2 separate regions of the Homo sapiens genome follow, and region 2 is linked to region 1. The links are contacts of gene promoters, found by promoter capture Hi-C in human tissues and cell types (Jung and others, 2019). All regions are on one chromosome and are shown on one strand. The core of a region is centred on a gene start or on the middle of the fragment in contact, and the rest is flanking DNA. Distances in the headings are between cores, read along the strand shown.

Region 1 (4,759 bases), core at 679-3,178:
TCGAACAAAGGCTCCCAGTGGCTGTGCCAGGAAGCCCAGCTCCCCTGCCAGCACAGTCCCTGCCTCAGCTCCTGGAGGTAGCTTCTGTCTCAGGGGGTTCTGACACTGGATGGGGGTTCAAGGAGACACAGAATATGAAAGGTTATTTGGGGAGGATAAGATCTCAAATGATGAGAAATCCAGTGGAGAGTAGACTTTTGTTAATTTCTAACCCCTCTCCCAGCCACTGGAAAGGGACCCCAAGGAAGGGCCACAAACCTGTTCCCTCAGGGGGGCTTCCTCATTGTCAGAAGCCTTTCTTGGATGAGTAGAGCCTACAAAACAGGATTATGCAGTGATTAAGACCACAGGCTTTGGGGGTGGATCCACCAGGATTCCCTAATCACTTTTGCCACTGACAAGCTGTAAGAATTAGAGTATACCCTTCTCCACTCTGAGCCACAGTTTTCTCACCACTAAAATGGGGATAATTGTGGTACTATTTACAGGGTGGTTGTGAAGATCAAATGAGATACTGTGAAGATCAAATGGTAGGCCTAGTGCCTACCAAGTACATGTCTTCACAGAACTCTCTTACGATTCTAGCCCCCTGAATCTTCTCCCCACAACATTACCACCAGTTTCCTCTTGCTCATGAGTCCTGGGTTGGAGCCTGAACTAAGCCTGGGCTACTTCTAGCCCTGGAAGGTGCAGGGGAGATCTGAGACCCTGCCACACCAGGGTCTTGGTCCTGGGCCCAGGGAGGGGCTCTCACCCCAGCAGGGCCTGGTGCCTGTGGTCTGGTTGTAATGCTGGGGTCTCTGCAGCAGCAAGGCCTGCAACTGCCCTCTCAGCTCTGGGCTCAGCGACTCCACCCTGGTCACCTGCTCTGGAGAATGGATTGGGGGTCATCTCCTTCCTGAGAGTTCCCTGCCGCACACTCTTCCCCTTCTCCCTCTGCCCAGACACCTTTCCCTTCTGGGAGTCTCAGAATGCCAGGGCCAATGAACTTGCTCCTCCACCCTGCTTTTCCATGTCCACCCTGTGACAAGGGTAGACAATCCTAGGAGGGGTAGGGATGGGCTCTGGAAGATTTCAAGACTTTGGAGGGGAAATCCTGGGGAAAAGGCATGGCTACCCAGGCCCTTCCTGCAAAGGATCCCAGCCTACCCACGAGCTCCAGGAGGCTCTGAGCTGGGCAGTCCAGCAGTACAAGGCCCTCGGCCAGCAGGCTGCGGAGCTTCTGGAGGCTGGGCAGTGCCAGGGTGGGCACGTGGGGGGCACTCCACCGGCCTGCAGCCACCTCCAACTTCTCCTCAAACAGTACCCACCTGTGATGAAGGTGGGTAGACAGTGTTATTGAGGGCATTTCTCCCATGTCCAGGAGCAGAGATGCAGAGGAGCTAGGGAAGGCAAGGCAATGAGGGCATCCTGGGCCCAGTGGTGTGAAGTCTCCCCCCCACCCTGGCAGTCACCCCTCATCTAGGGTCTTGGGGATCTCAAAACTAGACTGCAGAGGAGGCTGGGCATCATGGAAGGTAAGACCCTGAAATAAGGGAACACAGCTGGGAAAATCCTAATTTTGGGCAGCCCCATAAGAAGCGCTGGGGGACATATAGGAGGCTCCAGCTGGGGAAGGGGAAGGATCCCACAGAACTGGCCTGCATCCAACTTACCTGCCTGTCTCTCTCCACTCCAGCGCCTGGGGCCAGCCCAGCAGCTCATTCAGCTGAATGAAGAGCAGAGGGTCTTTGGGTACTCCCAGTTCCTTGCTCTCTGTGTCTGAGGGGCCATCAGGGCTGGGGCCGGTGCCAGGGTCAGGGTTGCTGTCCAGCTCCCCTGAAGGAATATTTCTAGGAGCACTGGAGGCTTCAAACCCTTCCTGGCCTGGCAGCTTCATTTCCATGAGGCTTGCACAGAATCTCAGAACCAGTACAGTCCTAGGTTCTGAAGCCAGGGGCCCTCTGGCTGGTTGCATTTATAATGCATCCCCCACTGCAGCACAACACAAACAGAACAAGGCCTGCTGACTCCAGACTCTACCGGTCACCTACTCCCCTACTTGCTTACCCCACCCCCTGCTGGCATAAGAGTATTTGTAAGACTAGTCTGGCCTTTCCCAGGCTCTCCAGAAATGCCCAACCTGGGGCCAAAATGTGTATGTGCATTTCCTGTGGTATCAGGTCTGATCCCACTGTGTTTTGTGTAAAGAAACAGGAGTAAATGATTGGCTTGGGTCTGAGGACTTGGTACCCCCAGATTTTGCTGCCCCCCTCACTTGTATCAAATATAAATACCAAACACCCAGGACTGTTTTGGGTGTCACCAACACACCCCTGGGGCCACAGACACACCTATTTGGACAAACAGGGACCTAATAAATAATTGAGTCCATGGAAGCCAGACAGGGTAAGGGAGATAGCAGGCAGAGGACCTGCCCATTAAATGGGATAATGGTGGAAGACCTAGTGTCTGAGTCTTAAATTCTTTTCTTTTCTTTTTTTTTGAGACAGGGTCTCACTCTCTCACCCAGTCTGGAGTGTAGTGGCACAGTTATAGCTCACTGCACCTTTGACCTCCTAGCTCAAGTGATCCTCCCACCTCAGCCTCCAAGGTAGTTGGGACTACAGGTGCACGCCACCATGCCCAGCTAAGTCTTTTATTTTATTTTATTTTATTTTTGAGACGGAGTCTCGCTCTGTCGCCCAGGCTGGAGTGCAGTGGTGTGATCTCAGCTCACTGCAACCTTCACCTCTTGGGTTCAAGTGATTCTCCTGCCTCAGCCTCCCAAGTAGCTGAGATTACAGACATGTGCCACCAGGCCTGGCTGATTTTTATATTTTTAGTAGAGACAGGGTTTCACCATGTTGGCCAGGCTGGTCTCAAAAACTCCTGACCTCAGGTGATCCATCCGCCTCAGCCTCCCAAAGTGCTAGGATTACAAGCGTAAGCCACTGTGCCTGGCTGCCCAGCTAACGAGTCTTAAATTCTTTTGTCCAACAACACTTAGGAATTCCCTAATTTAGCTGTGTCCCTGGGATCTGCCCTGTGAGGATGGAGGAGCCCACTAGGGGGTGTAAGTGAAGGAGTTCCTGGAGCTAAATGAGCAAAGGAAAATGTGGTCCATTATTTGCAAATCCTGTTGACTCTATCTTCAAAATATACCCATAATCCAACCACATCTCCCCACCTCCAGCACTGCTACCCTGATTCAAACAACCATCATTTCTCACCTGAATTATTTCAGTAGCTTCCTGGTCTCTTGTAATAACCCCCCTGCTTCCACTCTTCCTCCCTTGCCCAAAGTCCATCCTCCACACCATACATGTCCTTTCAAAAGGCAGTTGAGCCACATTACTCTTCGGTTCAATACTCACCCAACACACTCCCATTACTCCTAGAAGAAGAAGAAAAAAAAATCAAGCTCCTTGTCGTGGCCTGCAAGATTCACACCCTGGCCCCAACCCACCTCTCTGACGGCATCTCACACCAGCCTCCCCTCGCTCACTCCTTTCTAACCACACTGGCCTTCACCTGTTCTGCAAAACCTGTTCCTGCCTGAGGATCTTTGCAGGATCTATTTTCTCTGTAAGGAAAGCCTTTCCCCCATATCCTTACATGACAATCTGTGACCTAGGTCTCATCTCAGACGTTAGCTACTCACGGAAATCTTCCTTTTCCATCCTATCCTAAGTTTCTTTCTTTTTTTTTTTTTTTTTTTTTTTTGAGACGGAGTCTCGCTCTGTTGCCCAGGCTGGAGTGCAGTGGCATGATCTCGGCTTACTGCAAGCTCCGCCTCCCGTGTTCACGCCATTCTCCTGCCTCAGCCTCCAGAGTAGCTGGGACTACAGGCGCCCGCCACCACGTCCGGCTAATTTCTTTCTTTTTTTTTTTTTTTTTTTTGTATTGGTAGAGACGGAGTTTCACCGTGTTAGCCAGTATGGTCTCGATCTCCTGAACTCGTGATCCACCCGCCTCGGCCTTCCAAAGTGCAGGGATTACAGGCGTGAGCACCGCGCCCGGCCCATCCTACCCTAAGTTTCTCTCTTGGGTCACTCTCCATCACATTTCTCTGTTTTATTTTCTTCCTAGCAGTTACCACTACTAGTAACTGCCTCATTTATGTATTTGTTTATCATTTATTGCCTGACTGTCCACGCACGCACACGCTGAAATGCACAGTCCGTGGAGCAGGTATCTGTCTTGGCCGCGGCGCCTAGAGCGGCGCCTGGCACGTAGTGGCTCTCAATAAATACTTGTTCAATGAGAGCATACAAAGGACCGGGCTGAGAAAAGAGCCGCGCTTCTCCTGGAGGCCACACGAGGGCACTGCTCCCCTCAGACCGGATTGCTAGGGCCGCTCCCTTAGGCCCAGTGGCTGCAGACCTGCCGGGGCGCAGAGATGGAGATGCCCAGATGGCAGGGAGAGATCCTAAACCCTCAGCCTTGCCCTGGCCCACCGCGGAATGGCCCGGAGAGATGGGGGGTTGGGGAAGAACAACAGGATGGGGAAGGGAGGGCCAATCAGGCTCATCTGAATGTAGGTCAGCCACACCCCACATATTGAATACCAAGAATCCATCCCCTGAGAAAGGGCACCCAGGCCGGCCCTACCCCCAGCCTCGCGTCTGGTCCAAGGAGGTCCCAGGGCAGGAATTAGAAGAGCATGTCACTATATTTCCAGTTGGGGAGGGGTGCTGAGTCTGAGTGAGGAGGTGGTTTCAGTGCCAGGAGGAATAGAAACTGGCCTGCGGACTGAATGGGCCTTGAACCCCTGTGA
Region 2 (4,759 bases), core at 986-3,485, 300 kb before region 1:
TGGGGCCCAGTAAATGAGATAGATTTTTTAGGAGTGGGGAAGGAGATACATGTAAAACAAATAATAACTGCCCAAAGGCGCCCACCATCCTTCTAACTACATACCTGGTCCATTTTGCTATAATCCACCTCCTCATCACTATCCACAGCCATGTCATCCATCCTAAGGAGAAGCAAGAGTTAAACAGATGTTGCATACCCTGACCCTATGCTTCATCTGGAAACCTACCCGACTAAGAGGTTATCTGCATAGGAATGACCACCCCCTAGACCTCCCACTTAGAGCCTAATAAAATAGTTCATCCAAGTAAGAAGTAGCCTTGGGCCAGGCGCAGTGGCTCACTCCTGTAATCCCCGCACTTTTGGAGGCTGAGGAGGGCAGATTACCTGAGGTCAGGAGTTCAAGACCAGCCTCACCAACATGGTGAAACCTCATCTCTACTAAAAATACAAAAACTAGCCAGGTGTGGTGATGCATGCCTATAATCCCAGCTACTTGGGAGGGTGAGGCAGGAGAATCGCTTGAACCCGGGAGATGGAGATTGCAGCGAGCAGAGATTATACCATTGCATTCCAGCCTGGGTGACAGAGTGAGACTCTGTCTCCAAAAAAAAAAAAAAAAAAAAAAGAAGTAGCCCTGGGACTTAGCGAATCAAATTTCCATTTCACCCCCAACTTGTTTCCCAATCATCCCAGCCTCCCTTCCTTAACCAGGTTTCACATACGTGGCTGGGTAGCACTCTGCATAACTGTTGGACATGCCAAAGAAATCTCCCAGCTGCTTTTTGTCTTCTGGCTTCTTCAGCATATGCTATGTTAAAGAAAACACTACACAGGATTCTACCTATTGCTGTAAAGCTTCAGCCAGGAGGGGGCCAAGGGCTAGAAGCCCCAACATGAAAATTCTGAGTGGGCTGTGAGCTGTTATGGGTGCTCTGGGAAGGAACAAGGGATGGTTTCATTCTGTCAAAATTCAGCGTAAAAGGGAAGGAGAGGGGCAGGGTAGGAGGGAGCAGGGAGGCAGGGGGGGTTGGAGTAAAGAGACCAGTTCTCTGGAACCCAGGAACGTATTAAAATAAAGGATATGATTCTGTGCCTTCCCAGCCAGCAGACCCAGCAAACTTTTCATTGATGGACTTGATCAACTCCTTGGTAGACCCAGGTCCTAGGAGAAAAGAGAACTCAGCCCAGACCTTGAACTGAGGCTCTCACAACCTCCTCCCCACAACACACTTAAAAAACATTTTTAAGGCATAGAACCCTTTTGTCTAACAAAGTTTTAAACAAACTCCAATTAATGAGTCACTCTGGTTGAGATGAGGGTAGGGTATCCAGAACATTCCATACTTGACCTCTACCTCACCTCCTCAGAACCCCAGGGCCACAGGAATTATATCTAAGAGCAAATATGCCCTGCCATGGCCCAGGAAGGTGGAGGGAACTCCACCTATTCAATAAAGCAAGACACAGTTCTTACAAGAACCCAGAACCAGGAGGTCCCCCAATCCCACCGTTGCCAGCTCTGAGCCCTACCAGGGGAAAGCAGGACTGCTAGAGCAACTGTGAGATGCTGTGTGTACAACTCACCTTTGTCAACGTCCATGGGCTGGAAAGAACACAAAATGTGAAGTTAGTGTTACCATGAGAGATTCCTACTCATCCCTCCCCCAAGTTTGAAACAATTCCTTACCCAACCTTGCTCACATTTCCAGAGAGGGGCAACTCCATCACCTGGTACTAAGGGCCCACATCTCACCTCATCATCTACTTTTGGCTTCTCAAAGTAGCTGTGTCTCTTCTTTTCCTCTTCTCTCTCTCGGTCCCGCTCTCGCTCTCGTTCCCGATCTCGTTCTCGCTCTCGCTCTCGGTCACGGTCTCTGTCTCTTTCCCGATCACGCTCCCGTTCCCGATATCTCTCCCGCTCCTTGTCCCGAGGTGTCTTGGTTGTGGAGGGTACGTAATCCCCAATGTCTTCAAAAATACTGGGAAAATGGAGATCACTAGCTGGCCAAATTCACACATACACCTTCACTCCCCCTGACCATTTCTCCAGATTCTCATGTCAGCACCTCCCCAAAATGCCAGACACAAGAAATGTACAGACCCCCTCCCTCTGATCAGATGCCAGGGGCTAGGATACATACTTCATGTCAGCCTCAGGAGGTTTCTTCTCTTCCAGCTTCCCTGAAATTTAAAGAGAGGAGTCAGGAACATACTCCTCAGTTAATTTCCACTGAACTTCACCATCCTCTCCAGCTCTTAATGCCCTTTTAAACATCTTCTGTTTAAAACGTGGGTCAAGGCTGGGTGCGGTGGCTCACGCCTGTAATCCCAGCACTTCGGGAGGCCAAGGCGGGCGGATCACTTGAGGTCAGGAGTTTGAGACCAGCCTGGCTAACATGGTGAAACCCCATCTCTACTAAAAGTACAAAAAAATTAGCCGGGTGTGATGGCAGGTGCCTGTAATCCCAGCTACTCAGGAGGCTGAGGCAAGAGAATTGCTTAAACCCAGGAGGCAGAGGTTGCAGTGAGCCGAGATGGCATCACTGCACTCCAGCCTGGGCGACAAAACGAGACTCGTCTCAAAATAAATAAATAAATAAAAATAATAAAATAAGGCCAGGAAGAGTGGCTCATGCCTGTAATCCCAGCACTTTGGGAGGCCGAGGTGGGCACATCATAAGGTCAGGAGTTCGAGGCCAGCCAGGCCAATACAGTGAAACCCCATCTCTACTGAAAATACAAAAATTAGCCAGGCGTGGTGATGCGTGCCTATAGTGCCTATAGTGCCTACTTGGGAGGCTGAGGCAGAAGAATCGCTTGACCCCGGGAGGCAGAGGTTGCAGTGAGCAGACATCGCACCACTGTACTCCAGCCTGGGTGACAGAGCGAGACTCCGTCTCAAAAAATAAATAAATAAAATAAAATAAAATGTCGGTCAAGTATTAGAGCCTTTTTAGAATCTGTCTAGGTTTTCTGGTTTTCACCAAAAAATCTCTTTTAAAAAAAATAAATAAATAGGACATAAGCTACCCACTCTCCATCCCTCATGCTTCAGACCTGACCACTGCTTCTTAGGTAGGTTAAGGAGACAGAATCTGGCTGTAACTGTCTCCTTGCCAATGCTCCAGTACTCCCATTTTTCTCTGCTTCCCAGGAGCCTCTCAATATTCTGGAGACAGAAAGCTCCAGGAGACCTTGGTTTTATCCCCAAACGTCCTCTGTGGGTAAGGCTTCTCTCTCTAACCCTCCAGGTACCTTTATCCTTCTTCTTAAGCTTCTTGTTACGGGTTCCCTGCCTCAGGTATGAAAGGATCTGGGTCAGCTTGCTAATGACAATGTCATTTGTGGTCAGTGTGGTCTGGGCCTGAAAATACCAAGAAACAAGAATGTTAAACCACTCAGCAGAAATCTCTTCATTTATTCATTCATTCACTTAACAAACTAAAGACTGAATTACAATACAGTAGGTGAAGGGAGGGAAACGAAGTGCTGTGAAAGGATATTCCAGAGATAAAACAGCCTGCACAAAAGCCCTGCATCAAAATGAATCAAGACCATTCAAGAAAGTCAGGAGTCTAGAACATTCTAGAAAGGCCAGATGTTGCAGAGGCTCAAAGTCATGGTAAAGATTTTGCTCTTTATCCTAAGAATGAGATACTACTAAAAGCTTCTAAACTGTAGTGAGACAAAAATTTACATTTTATTTATTTATTTGGAGACAGAGTCTCATTCTGTCGCCCAGGCTAGAATGCAGTGGCACGATCTTGGCTCACTGCAACCTCCACCTTCTGGGTTCAAGCAATTCTCATGCCTCAGCCTTCCGAGTAACTGGGATTACGGGCACATGCCGCCACGCCTGGCTAATTTTTAGTAGAGATCAGGTTTTACAATGTTGGCCCACCTGGTATTGAACTCCTAACCTCAAGTGATCCTCACACCTCAGCCTCCCAAAGTGCTGGGATTACAGGTGTGAGCCACTGCACCCAGCCAAACTGTATATTTTAGAAGGGTAGGGGAGGTAGGGGTGGTTAATAGGTACCAAAAAAATAGAAAGAATGAATAAGGCCTACTACATGATAGCACAACAGGGTGACTATAGGCAGTAATAATTTATACATTCTAAAACAACTAAAAGAGTATAAATGGATTGTTTGTAACACAAAAGATAAATGTTTAACGGGATGGATACCCCATTTTCCATGATGTGATTATTATGCATTATATGCCTGTATCAAAACATCTCATGTACCTCATAAATATATATACCTACTATATATCCACAAAAATTTTTAAAAAAATTCTCTTTAAAGGATGAATTATATGGCATGTGAATAACACCTCAATAACAAGATATAATAACAAATCAGAGTGGAAGTGCGGAAACCAGAGTGGAAGTGCGGAAACCAATTAGAAGCCTTTTTAATAGCTCCAGAGGACTGGCGCAGTGGCTCATGCCTGTAATCCCAGTACTTTGGGAGGCCAAGGCGGATGGATCACTTGAGGTCAGGAATAGCCTAGCCAACGTGGTAAAACCCAATCTCTACTAAAAATAAAAAAATTAACCAGGTGTGGTGATGAATGCCTGTAGTCCCAGCTACTTGGAAGGCTGCGGCAGGAGAATCGTTTGAACCTGGGAGGCGGAGTTTGCAGTGAGCCAAGATAGCACCACTGCACTCCATCCTGGGTGACAGAGTGAGACTTGGTCTCTAAAAAAATAGTAAGTTAATAGTTCCAGCAAATGATTATAGCTTAGACTG

Evidence for each region. The method cuts DNA at HindIII sites, captures the fragments that hold promoters and counts their contacts. A contact is called where the count stands out against the background at its distance.
Region 2: a contact is called between a fragment that was not itself captured here and the fragment with the promoter of SLC4A9 in region 1, in 1 of the 25 tissues and cell types used here (thymus).

Annotation. Positions count from the first base shown.
Region 1 is chr5:140,357,363-140,362,121 of GRCh38, reverse strand. It overlaps SLC4A9 (solute carrier family 4 member 9), which reads right to left and starts at 1,928. Exons shown (of 22, transcript NM_031467.3): 1 at 1,656-1,928; 2 at 1,150-1,310; 3 at 755-868; 4 at 259-314; 5 at 1-105. The coding sequence starts at 1,885. The HindIII fragment of the contact is 12,269 bases long and covers 1-4,759 here.
Region 2 is chr5:140,656,161-140,660,919 of GRCh38, reverse strand. IK (IK cytokine) reads right to left here. Exons shown (of 20, transcript NM_006083.4): 10 at 3,258-3,366; 11 at 2,144-2,183; 12 at 1,756-1,981; 13 at 1,587-1,605; 14 at 1,086-1,164; 15 at 725-805; 16 at 105-162. Among named protein-coding and RNA genes, the nearest start is that of WDR55, 6.4 kb to the left of the region's middle. The HindIII fragment of the contact is 4,391 bases long and covers 40-4,430 here.